3 separate regions of the Homo sapiens genome follow, and regions 1 and 2 are each linked to region 3. The links are contacts of gene promoters, found by promoter capture Hi-C in blood cells and fetal thymus (Javierre and others, 2016). All regions are on one chromosome and are shown on one strand. Each heading gives the region's core, a stretch centred on a gene start or on the middle of the fragment in contact. The rest is flanking DNA. Distances are from core to core; before and after follow the strand shown.

The links. The method cuts DNA at HindIII sites, captures the fragments that hold promoters and counts their contacts. A CHiCAGO score of 5 or more calls a contact.
Region 1: a fragment that was not itself captured here is called in contact with the fragment with the promoter of VASH1 in region 3 in 6 of 17 cell types (monocytes, total CD4 T cells, fetal thymus and 3 more); the score reaches 6.1 in monocytes.
Region 2: a fragment that was not itself captured here is called in contact with the fragment with the promoter of VASH1 in region 3 in 2 of 17 cell types (monocytes and M2 macrophages); the score reaches 9.4 in monocytes.

What each region holds. Positions count from the first base shown.
Region 1 is chr14:77,076,472-77,079,995 of GRCh38, forward strand. No RefSeq gene overlaps it. Among named protein-coding and RNA genes, the nearest start is that of LINC02289, 2.0 kb to the left of the region's middle. The HindIII fragment of the contact is 1,332 bases long and covers 1,028-2,359 here.
Region 2 is chr14:77,093,022-77,096,237 of GRCh38, forward strand. No RefSeq gene overlaps it. Among named protein-coding and RNA genes, the nearest start is that of CIPC, 3.6 kb to the right of the region's middle. The HindIII fragment of the contact is 1,194 bases long and covers 1,080-2,273 here.
Region 3 is chr14:76,759,831-76,762,922 of GRCh38, forward strand. It overlaps VASH1 (vasohibin 1), which reads left to right and starts at 1,638. Exons shown (of 7, transcript NM_014909.5): 1 at 1,638-3,092. The coding sequence starts at 2,992. RefSeq lists silencers at 1,605-1,794, 1,895-2,164. The HindIII fragment of the contact is 7,359 bases long and covers 1-3,092 here.

The DNA.
Region 1 (3,524 bases), core at 444-2,943, 320 kb after region 3:
GCCCCTCCCCCGCCCCTGACCTCCTAACTCTTCACCCTGTGTTGGCCTGACTTCACCCTGGGATGGGGAAACTTCCTGGGAGGATATAGCTGACCTGGGAACAAAACTTGTTTTTTTGAAAGCTTTGTGCAACGTCAACTAAGTTGGGGGAGGGGTCTGGGCAAGGAAAGAAGAAAGCAAAGGGGGGCAGGGTGGGAACAGTTCTGCTAAACCAAACAATTCCCCAGGGATGATGGAGCTGTGGTGACCTGATAAGTCCTTTAAATGTCTTATTAATTACTGGGGGAAAAATTGGCTACTTCTGAGTCTCCCCTCTCTCACTGTCCTTGCACAAGCTTGGGACTAGCTCTGTCCTTTTTTAAGAGTCAGTCTTGGGCCGGGCATAGTGGCTCACTCCTGTAATCCCAGCACTTTGGGAGGCTAAGGCAGGAGGATCCCTTGAGGCCAGGAGCTTGAGACCAGCCTGGGCAACATAGCGAGACCTCATCCCTACAAATAATTTTTAAAAATTAGCTTGGAGTGTTGGTGTGTGTCTGTGGTCCCTGCTACTCAGGAGACTGAGGCAGGAGGATTACTTAAGCCCAGGCAGTGGAGGCAGCAGTGAGCTGTGATTGCACTATTGCACTCCAGCCTGGGTGATAGAGCAAGAACCTATCTCAAAAAAAAAAAAAAAAAAAAAAGAGTCCAGCTTTTTAAAGAAGGGTGCCCCTTGGTGGAAGACAACAGGACAAGGCAGGAGCTGGGGCTGCGGAGAGTCCGGGGTCTGCAGAGCATGGGGCTGCCATCAGAGACCCACCAGGCAGGTTCCTGCTCCTAGCAAGGACCCGGCTGAGCAGAGATGAGGGTGTGGAGGTGAACCTGGAAAACATGCAGAGGATTCTAGACACATTCCACAGTCAGAGCCTCTGGAAAGCCCACCTTCTCCATCACAGAGGCTTTGGGGAATAGACATCCTGTTTCTCTGTATTATTACAGCACAAAGCATTTATCATGCTGACAATGACAGTGACATTTCAGGACCTAAACAAGCTTAGTTGTTCACAGCTTACAGGAGAGAAGGCTCCTAACACTCTTTATTTATTTATTTATTTGTTTGTTTATTTATTTTGTTTTTGTTTTTTTTTGTTTTGAGACAGAGTTTCGCTCTGTCGCCCAGGCAGACAGAGTGCAGTGGCAAGATCTCGGCTCACTGCAAGTTCCGCTTCCAGGGTTCACGCCATTCTCCTGCCCAGCCTCCCGAGTAGCTGGGACTACAGGTGCCTGCCACGGCGCCTGGCTAATTTTTTGTATTTTTAGTAGAGGCGGGGTTTCACCGTGTTAGCCAGGATAGTCTCCATCTCCTGACATCTTGATCCACCCACCTCGGCCTCCCAGAGTGCTGGGATTACAGGCGTGAGCCACCGCGCCCGGCCTATTTATTTGTTTTTTGAGACAGAGCCTTGCTCTGTCATCCAGGCTGGAGTGCAATGGTGTGATCTCGGCTTATTGCAACTTCCACCTCCCAGGTTCAAGCAATTCTCCTGCCTCAGCCTCCCGAGTAGTCGGGACTACAGGTGTGCACTACCACAGCAGGCTATTTTTTTTTTTTTTTTTTAGTAGAGACAGAGTTTCTCCACGTTGGCCAGGCTGGTCTCGAACTCCTGACCTCAGACAATCTGCCTGCCACATGATTAGGTCCTGAGGGCTCTCCCCTCATGAATGGGATTAAGACTTTTATAAAAGAGGCCTGAAGGAGCTTGTTGACCCCTTCTGCCATGCAAGGACACAGAGGAGGCACCATGTATGAGGAATGAGCCCTCACAAGACACTGAATCTGCTGGCGCCTTGACCTTGGACTTTCCAGTCTCCAGAACTGTGAATGATAAATTTCCATTGTTTATAAATTACCCAGTCTAAGGTATTTTGTTATAGCAGCCAAAACCATCTACAGAGCACTAATGACAGTTTGGGCTGGATTATTCTTCGTTGTCGGGGCTGCCCTGTACATTGTAGGATGTTTTGGAATATCCCTGGCCTCTATCCACAAGATGCCAGTAGCGCCTCCCCCAACTCCATGACAAAACTGTCCCTTGGGGGCAAAATTACCCCTGGTTGAGAATCACGGCCAAGTAGCAGTCCCCATTCAGTGACCAGACAGCTAAGGAGATCCAGAGTGTAGTGCTGGGCCACACAGATGCTAAGGGAATTTATACTTCAGGAAAAAAAAAAAAAAGGCCAAGTCTATGTGGCCTTCGCATCAGTTATTACTCTCTCGGTTGCACTAAGTGACAGAAAATTCACCTCTAAATGACTTTAAATTGGGATGCTGTTTCATATAACTAAGCAGACCAGGGATTAGGCATTGTGCTGGTTCAGGCCAAGCTTGATCCAGGGATTCAAACAATATCACCAAGATTTGGCTTTATCTTTATCCCCGATGCTGCTCTTCTCCATAGCGTTTTCTTGTTGGGATAAGATGGCTGCCAGCAATCCAGTCCCACCTCTTCCTATGCCTGAGACTTGTGAGGAAAAAACATGAAGTGCTTTTCTTTTTGCAGTCCCAGCAAAAGTCTCATTCCACTGAACTGGCTCTGACTTGAACATGAATCCATCATCAAGCAAGACACCATGGCTGGGGAATGTGATGGCCTAAGTGGCCAGGTTGTAGTCACATAACCACTTCTGGATCTGGGAGTGGAGTCAACTCTGTCTGTGGGACATCAAGAATGGGGAAGTGGGGTTCCCAAGAGGAAAGTAGCATACTACCACTGGGAGACAGGTGAAAGGATTCTTGATGACAAAAAGCAATACATAGCTACCACAGTCTTTTTTTTCTTTTCTTTTCTTTTCTTTTTTTTTTTTTTTTTTGAGGCAGGGTCTCACTCTGTCGCTCAGGCTGGAGTGTAGTGTGAGATCTCAGCTCACTGCAGCCTCAACCTCCTAGGCTCAAAGAATCCTCCCTCTTCAGCCTCCAGAGTAGCTAGAATTATAAGTGTGCACCACCACACCCAGCTACTATTTGTATTTTTAGTAGAGATGGAGTCTCACCATGTTGCCCAGGCTGATCGCGAACTCCTGAGTTCAAGTGATCTGCCCACCTCGGCCTCCTGAAGTGCTAGGATTATAGGTGTGAGCCACCACACCTGACCTACCAAAGTCTTTATACCAAAAAGAAGCTCACTCTTAAATTGATTAAGGTGAGAGCTAAAAGTTTAAAGAAGACTCTGCCGAGTGGTAGTATAATACCTGTGCCATGATTGTCCAAATCAACCTCCAGGTGACAAACAAGAACTCTTTCAGGTATCTCTAAGATAAACTAGCATCTGAGATGGTTCATTCAGATGGATCTCTAAAATGGAGACTGCCAGAGTTTTACCAAGATTTTTCCTCCCATTTTTTCATAGTAACATATATGTAGTTGGGTCCATAGTTGCTCAGCTGGAGATAGCATTTCCCAATTTTCCTTGCAGTTCAAATCGTAGTACATGTGAGTCCCAGCCCTGGAGTGAGTAGTCACTTGGGGGACACCTTGCAGTTAGGTGTGA
Region 2 (3,216 bases), core at 427-2,926, 330 kb after region 3:
AAATAATTCTGGTTAAAGATTAATAAGGAAGGGGCATACTAAGGCGTGTCTGACCTCTCTCCCCATCACGGCCAGACATTCAGTTTTCAGGGTTTCTCTGGGGACTGCTTGGCCAAGAGGGGGTCATTCCAGTTAGCTGAAGGGCTTAAGATTTTATTTTTATTCCTCATAGTGCTTCTAGCTCCCCACTGGCCTCCTCCTTAGCATAGCAGGAAAGGCTGAGATATTACCCATTTCCACTTTAACATGGAGGCTGTCAAGCAAAGTGGCAAGGACTCTGGAATTCAAATCCTGGCTCTACCACTTACCACGGGTGACCTTGGCAAGTGACGTGGGCCTCCATATCTGAGCCTCCTGCTCTGTAAAAAGAAAATAATGATACTACACCCATCTCATAGACAGTGGGAGGATTAAATGAATAAATGTAGGCAAATCACTTAGGACAGCATCTGGCAAATAATAAGCACTACGTGTTGTTATGGAAGAATTTGTCTTGGGTTCTAGAGTATCTTGGTGTCAAGCAATTCCTTAAAGGAATTTCAAGTATCAGCAAGAAGACAGAGGGCTATGTGGGAAGGGTTTACACTGTCTCTAAAATCAAAACCTTCACCTGTATATGAACAGCCTGACCATAACCTGAATATTACCCTTTTAGTGTACCTGCTCTGCCAAATACTTCCCTAAAATATGAGCCAAGAACCAGTCTGGCTGGTGAGGGCCTTGTTACCTGACTGCTAAGGGAAAAAAGGTCATACATCCCACTATCACTGGCCTCTGCCTCTGCCATCTGGCACCTGTAGATCCCCCTGCCCACACAGGCTGGAGCCCCTCTCTTCTCTCACTGACCCATGAGACACACTTACCACTCCATCAAATCCTATTTAAAGACTTATGAAGTGATCAGCACCAATAATGCTAGATGCTAGATTCAAACTACAGGATAACTATTTTACAGACGGCCAAACTGAGGTTCAGGAAAATGAAATCAATGGTTCCCAAACACCAGTCCAAGAACTGTTGCCAGTCCTTGTGGTGATGTTTTCACCAGTCTTCAGCCAAACTGGAAAAATAAGACTAAAAGCTTTAAGTTTTTCATACACCCGAAATTATTCTATTTTTAAATTGTGAGGTTATGTCCTATCTTCCCTTCTGTGTATACGGAAAAGATATCAAAATGACCCTTCTTTTGTAAAATGATATTGATAGGAGCTGGAATTTGAAACTAGATCACTGACTTTCACCGTCTCCTATTACACTATTTTAATTACTTCTAAATTTTTTTTTTTTTTTTTTTTGAGACGGAGTCTCGCTCTGTCACCCAGGCTGGAGTGCAGTGGCACAATTTCAGCTCACTGCAGCCTCCGCCTCCTGGATTCAAGCAATTCTCCTGCCTCAGCCCCCTGAGTGGCTGGGATTAAAGGCGCATGCCACCATGCCCAGCTAATTTTTGTATTTTCAGTAGAGACGGGGTTTCACCACGTTGGCCAGGCTGGTCTTGAACTCCTGACCTAGTGATCTGCCCGCCTTGGCCTCCCAAAGTGCTGGGATTACAGGTGTGAGCCACTGCGCCTGGCCCACTTTTAAATATTTTTAAATGACTTTAATTTTAAATTCAACAATTATTAAACAATCGTTTATAAATATTTTAAATTGTATAACATAATACACTTAAAATATCTTCAAATAAAACTCGGCCCATGGCTGACTCTTCATGGTATCCTAGGCAGGGTTAAAAACTCAAATCCTCACACGGATAGGCAGGTTACAATTTCAAGAAGTAGATGGGAAAAAAAAAGAAACATTCGCAAGTCCCTAAATGTAGGATTTAAGGGCGCATGTCTCCCCCTGCTGGTTGTGGTGGTAGGAAACCGAACCTAGACCACAATGGTACTGGGGAGAACTTGAATTGGAAAGGACCCTACAGCAAGAAGAATAGGTGCTTCAGAACCCACTATCCATCACAGGGTCCTTACCCCATCCATCATAGGGTCCTTACTCCAACCAAGAGTAAAGAGAGTAAAGTGAGTGAAGGTTAAAGAATTCGTGGCACCAGTAAACTATCAATAGATGCTGATTTACAAATCTTGGTAAATTAATAGGAAAGGAAGAAAAACGTTTACGGTGGTTTAGCTACATAAAAATATTCACTATCAATCTTCATGAATTGCTTATTCTGTATATCTAATTATATAGAATCATAGCATAAAATAATCATAAAAATTATGCCTATCATTAGTCTTGATTCATTTGGTTCCATTACAATACTTGTCTGAAGCTTAAGTTATTGGTACAGCATGGCTGTCTGCTCAAGATGTAGGTAAAGTCAAGGAAGTTTGGTTTATTTGCCCCTTCGGAGGACTAAGAGGGCCTCATGCTTTCGCATATTTCACTGATTCTTTTTTGCTTGGTATGCATTATCCCCTCACCTGCTTCCATTATTGCAAACCCAACTTTCAAGCTGTCTTTAAAGCTTTACCTGCTGGTCTCTTTCTACTCCAACAACCGAAAAAGAAAGTTTTTTTTTTCTCCCTTAATGTTATTGTTTTGTTCAGAATCTTTTGGTAGTTATCCCATTCTCTTTCATATTGCTTATTACATCATGTCTTATTTCCCATATCAGATTGTAAGTTATTTGAAGGCAGACTTTTATTCTTTTTTTTTTTGAATTTTATTTTTGTTTTGTTTTTTATTTAAGTTCAGGGATACGTGTGCAGATTCGTTACATAGGTAAACTTGTGTCATGGCGGTTTGTTGTACAGATGATTTCGTTACCCAGGTATTAAGCCTAGTATCCATGCTGCTGTTTTTTAAATTTTTTATTTCCATAGGTTTTTGGGGAACAGGTGGCATTTTGGTTATATGAGTAAGTTCTTAAGCGGTGATTTGTGAGATTTTGGTGAACCCATCACCTGAGCAGTATACACTGCACCCAATTTGTAGTCTTTTATCCCTCACCCCCTTCCCACCCTTTCCCCTTGAGTCCCCAAAGTCCACTGTATCATCCTTATGCCTTTACATCCTCATAGCTTAACTCCCACTTATGAGTGAGAACATACGATGTTTGGGTTTCTATTCCTTAGTTACTTCACTTAGAATATAAGTCTCCAATCTCATCCAGGTTGCTGCAAATGCCATTAATTCATTCCTCTCATAGTTTATTTATTTGCCCCTTCGGAAAACTAAGATAGGACCACACCTCATGCTTTTGCTTATTTC
Region 3 (3,092 bases), core at 388-2,887:
GCCTCACCATGTGGCTTGGGCTTCTTCACAACATGGTAGCTGGTTTCTTCTGAGGAACCAAGAAGAAGCTGTCTCCTTTTTATGGCCTGGTCTTAAGAGTCATACAGCTTCACTTTCATCACACTTTATTCATTAGACACCAGTCACCAAGTACATCCCACATTCAGGGGGAAAGGAATTAGATCCCATCTTTTGAAAAGAATGGTCAAGAGCTTGCAAGCCAATTTTAAAACCAGCACCACTTGGCTAACACAAGAAGCAATGTATAGAGTGAAAAACAAGTGTCTGAAGAAGTAAGACTTCTGTTCACATTCTAGCTCTGCCACTTACTAGCTGTGTGAGTTTGGGGAAATTACCCTCTGAGACTTGGTTTATACAATACAGGGTGATAGTTGTTGATCCCTAGTGATTTTTCTACGCTTGGAGTCTTCTTGCCTTAGTGAGTTTAAGAAGATCCAGGCTGAACTAACTTTCTTGGAGTCTTGCAATCCTTCCCATCACTGATAACCCTTGGTTTCTGACCCTGGAGGTAGTAAGAGGTTGCTACGGGAGCACAGGGTACCCAGAAAGTTCAGATACTAGGGACAGCTTTAGAGAACAGATGTGAAACCACTGAGGCCCTGGGGTCTCTCTAAGGCCTTTAACCCAGCCCTTGTGTAGTAACCTCAGCTTGTCAAGAAATGCAACGACCCCACAACTAAGGAATCTGAATCTGCCGGCTAAGGCCAAGGAATCTGCATTCTCCCACAAGACTGTGATTCATGCTAACTACAGGCAGGGGAGAGGGGGAGCATCTTAAAGCACACACTCGGCCGTCTCTTCCTAAAGTTCTTGGCTTCAGCCTAGAGATAGTGCCTTTCCCACCATTTACAACTCTATGGCATGAGGGAGGCGGAGGGTGCGTCCAGTGTCCAACCACGCACCACAGCTGGTTGTACTTTCACCTTCCTCTAGGCCAGCGGACCCTCCCCAAGCATTGCCTCCCACGCCCACGTCGCGGTCCCACCCTGGTCCGCGGGGTCCAGAGCGTCCAAAGCCCGGTCTAGGCAGATGGTCTAGGGGTGAGCTCTGCGCACCCCATTCCCACCAGTGCAGGCAATCGAATAAAACAGGGTGACTTTTAACCCTTTTCGTTTCCAGAGATAGTGACCCCCCGTCTCAATCCCTAGATGTCCTCCTCTAAGAACTGTGCGCGCTGGGAGGGACTCTGCGCTCACTCACTGTGACCACCTCGGCTGGGATATGGGGAAACTGAGGCCTACAGAGGGAAGGGAACTGCTGAACGTCCCAAAGCAACACAGGCACTGAATCCGGTCTAGAATCCCAGTCTTCCAGGCCAGTGCTCTCGGTCCTACCGGCTCAGGGCCCCTGCGAAGAATCTTTTTCAAGAAATTCCCGACCGCAGGAATTCCTTCTGCGCTAGGAATCTCCATGGAGTTTGCGCTCCCTCTGGCACGTTGAAAACGTCCTCCGCAGCTTCGCACCGGCTTCGCGGCGCCCTGACAGCTGGGTGAGGAGGGAGCGAATGCCCACCGGCGTCCTTGGGGTAACTTGGGACAGAGGCACCGCCGCGGGGGGCGGAGGACTGGGCGCGAAGGCGCTGGCCCTTTAAGGGGGGGACGGAGCGCATGCGCGGCGCGGGCCGTAGTCGAGCCTGGTGGGCGGCTGGCTGGCAGGGGACGTGGTCGGCGGCAGCGGGGCCCAGGGGCGGCGGGGCTGCAGCAGCGGCGGCCCCAGCTTCGCCGAGCAGCGATCGGCTGGTGGGCTTCTCGTTGGCGGGCTCCGCGTTGGCGGGCTGCTCCCCAGGCACCAGCGCAGCGCGCGCTCGCCCGGCTTCGTCACTCGCCTCCAGCTACATCCGCCGGCCGAGGCTGCGCGAGCCTCCGGGCTTGCGGTCCCCGCCCCGCGGTCCTTCCTCCACCCTCAGCCAGGGCAGCTGCAGCCCGAGCGAACAGCCACGGAGCATCCTCCGCCCGCCCGGGCCGCGCCACCGCCCATGCTGCAGCCAGTCCCAGGCAGCGACCCCGCGGCCGCAGCCCGCCGCTCAGTGACCTCAGCCTGGCCCCTGCGCGCCGCCCGAGCCGGTCCCGCTGAGCCGCGGGCCCCGTGCCCTGCGATGGCTCGGCTGGTGCAGCGCGGCGCCAGGTGCCAGCCGTCCTCCCGCTGAGACGCGCCCGAGTGGGGACCCGCTGGGCCTCGGGGCTCGCAGCCTTCGCCTCCCCGCCGCGCCCGCTCCCTTTCTGGGGACTCCGCCGCTGTTTCTGGGGACGAGGGGACAGGGGACCCAGACAAAGCCCACTTTGTGCAGGGAGTTGGCCGCAGGCGGGGAATGTGCGCGTCGGCGCGCGCCCCCTCCCCGCTCCCGGCCAGCTGCGAGTCTTGGCTCCCGGACTTGTCTCGTCGCGTCGGAGAAATCGCCCCCCAGCGCCGCTCTCCCGCCCGGGGGTCTTGGTTCCGAGCTCGCGCGGCCGGGAGTCGCCTCGGTCTTCCTTGGGGCGCGCGCAGATGTGAGCGTGCGAGAGTTGTGTAGGGGATTTTGTTCCCTCCGAAACTGAGACCCAGGGCGCCCAGTGGGCACCCGTGCCTTGACTCTGTCCTTTCTGCAGCCGCTGGTCCGAGCTGTCTGGCCTCAGTTTCCCTCCGACTTTTCTCCGCTCTGCCAGCCCTCACTGCTGCCCGTCATTGTTCTCGCAGTTAGATGGGGGTGCTTTGTGACGGCTGCCAAGTTGGGGTGTGTTCTCTTTATTCCGTTTTTCAAACAGAACAAGGCCTCCAAGGCTGACCCCAGACAACCCACCCCCTCGGACCCTAATTCACCTTATTGCACTGATTTTTTTTATCAAGTCGTATTTTATTGTACAGGAGCCACGCCCTGATTTCTTAAAGGCGCCTTGCACTCTGGCCATGTGTTATCTCTGCAGCCGGTGTGTGGGAGGCCTCTTGTGAGCCAGTTGTTTTCCCGCCTCCACCACCCCCCTCGAAGATTTAGGGATGCCAGGGGGGAAGAAGGTGGCTGGGGGTGGCAGCAGCGGTGCCACTCCAACGTCCGCTGCGGCCACCGCCCCCTCTGGGGTCAGGCGTTTGGAGACCAG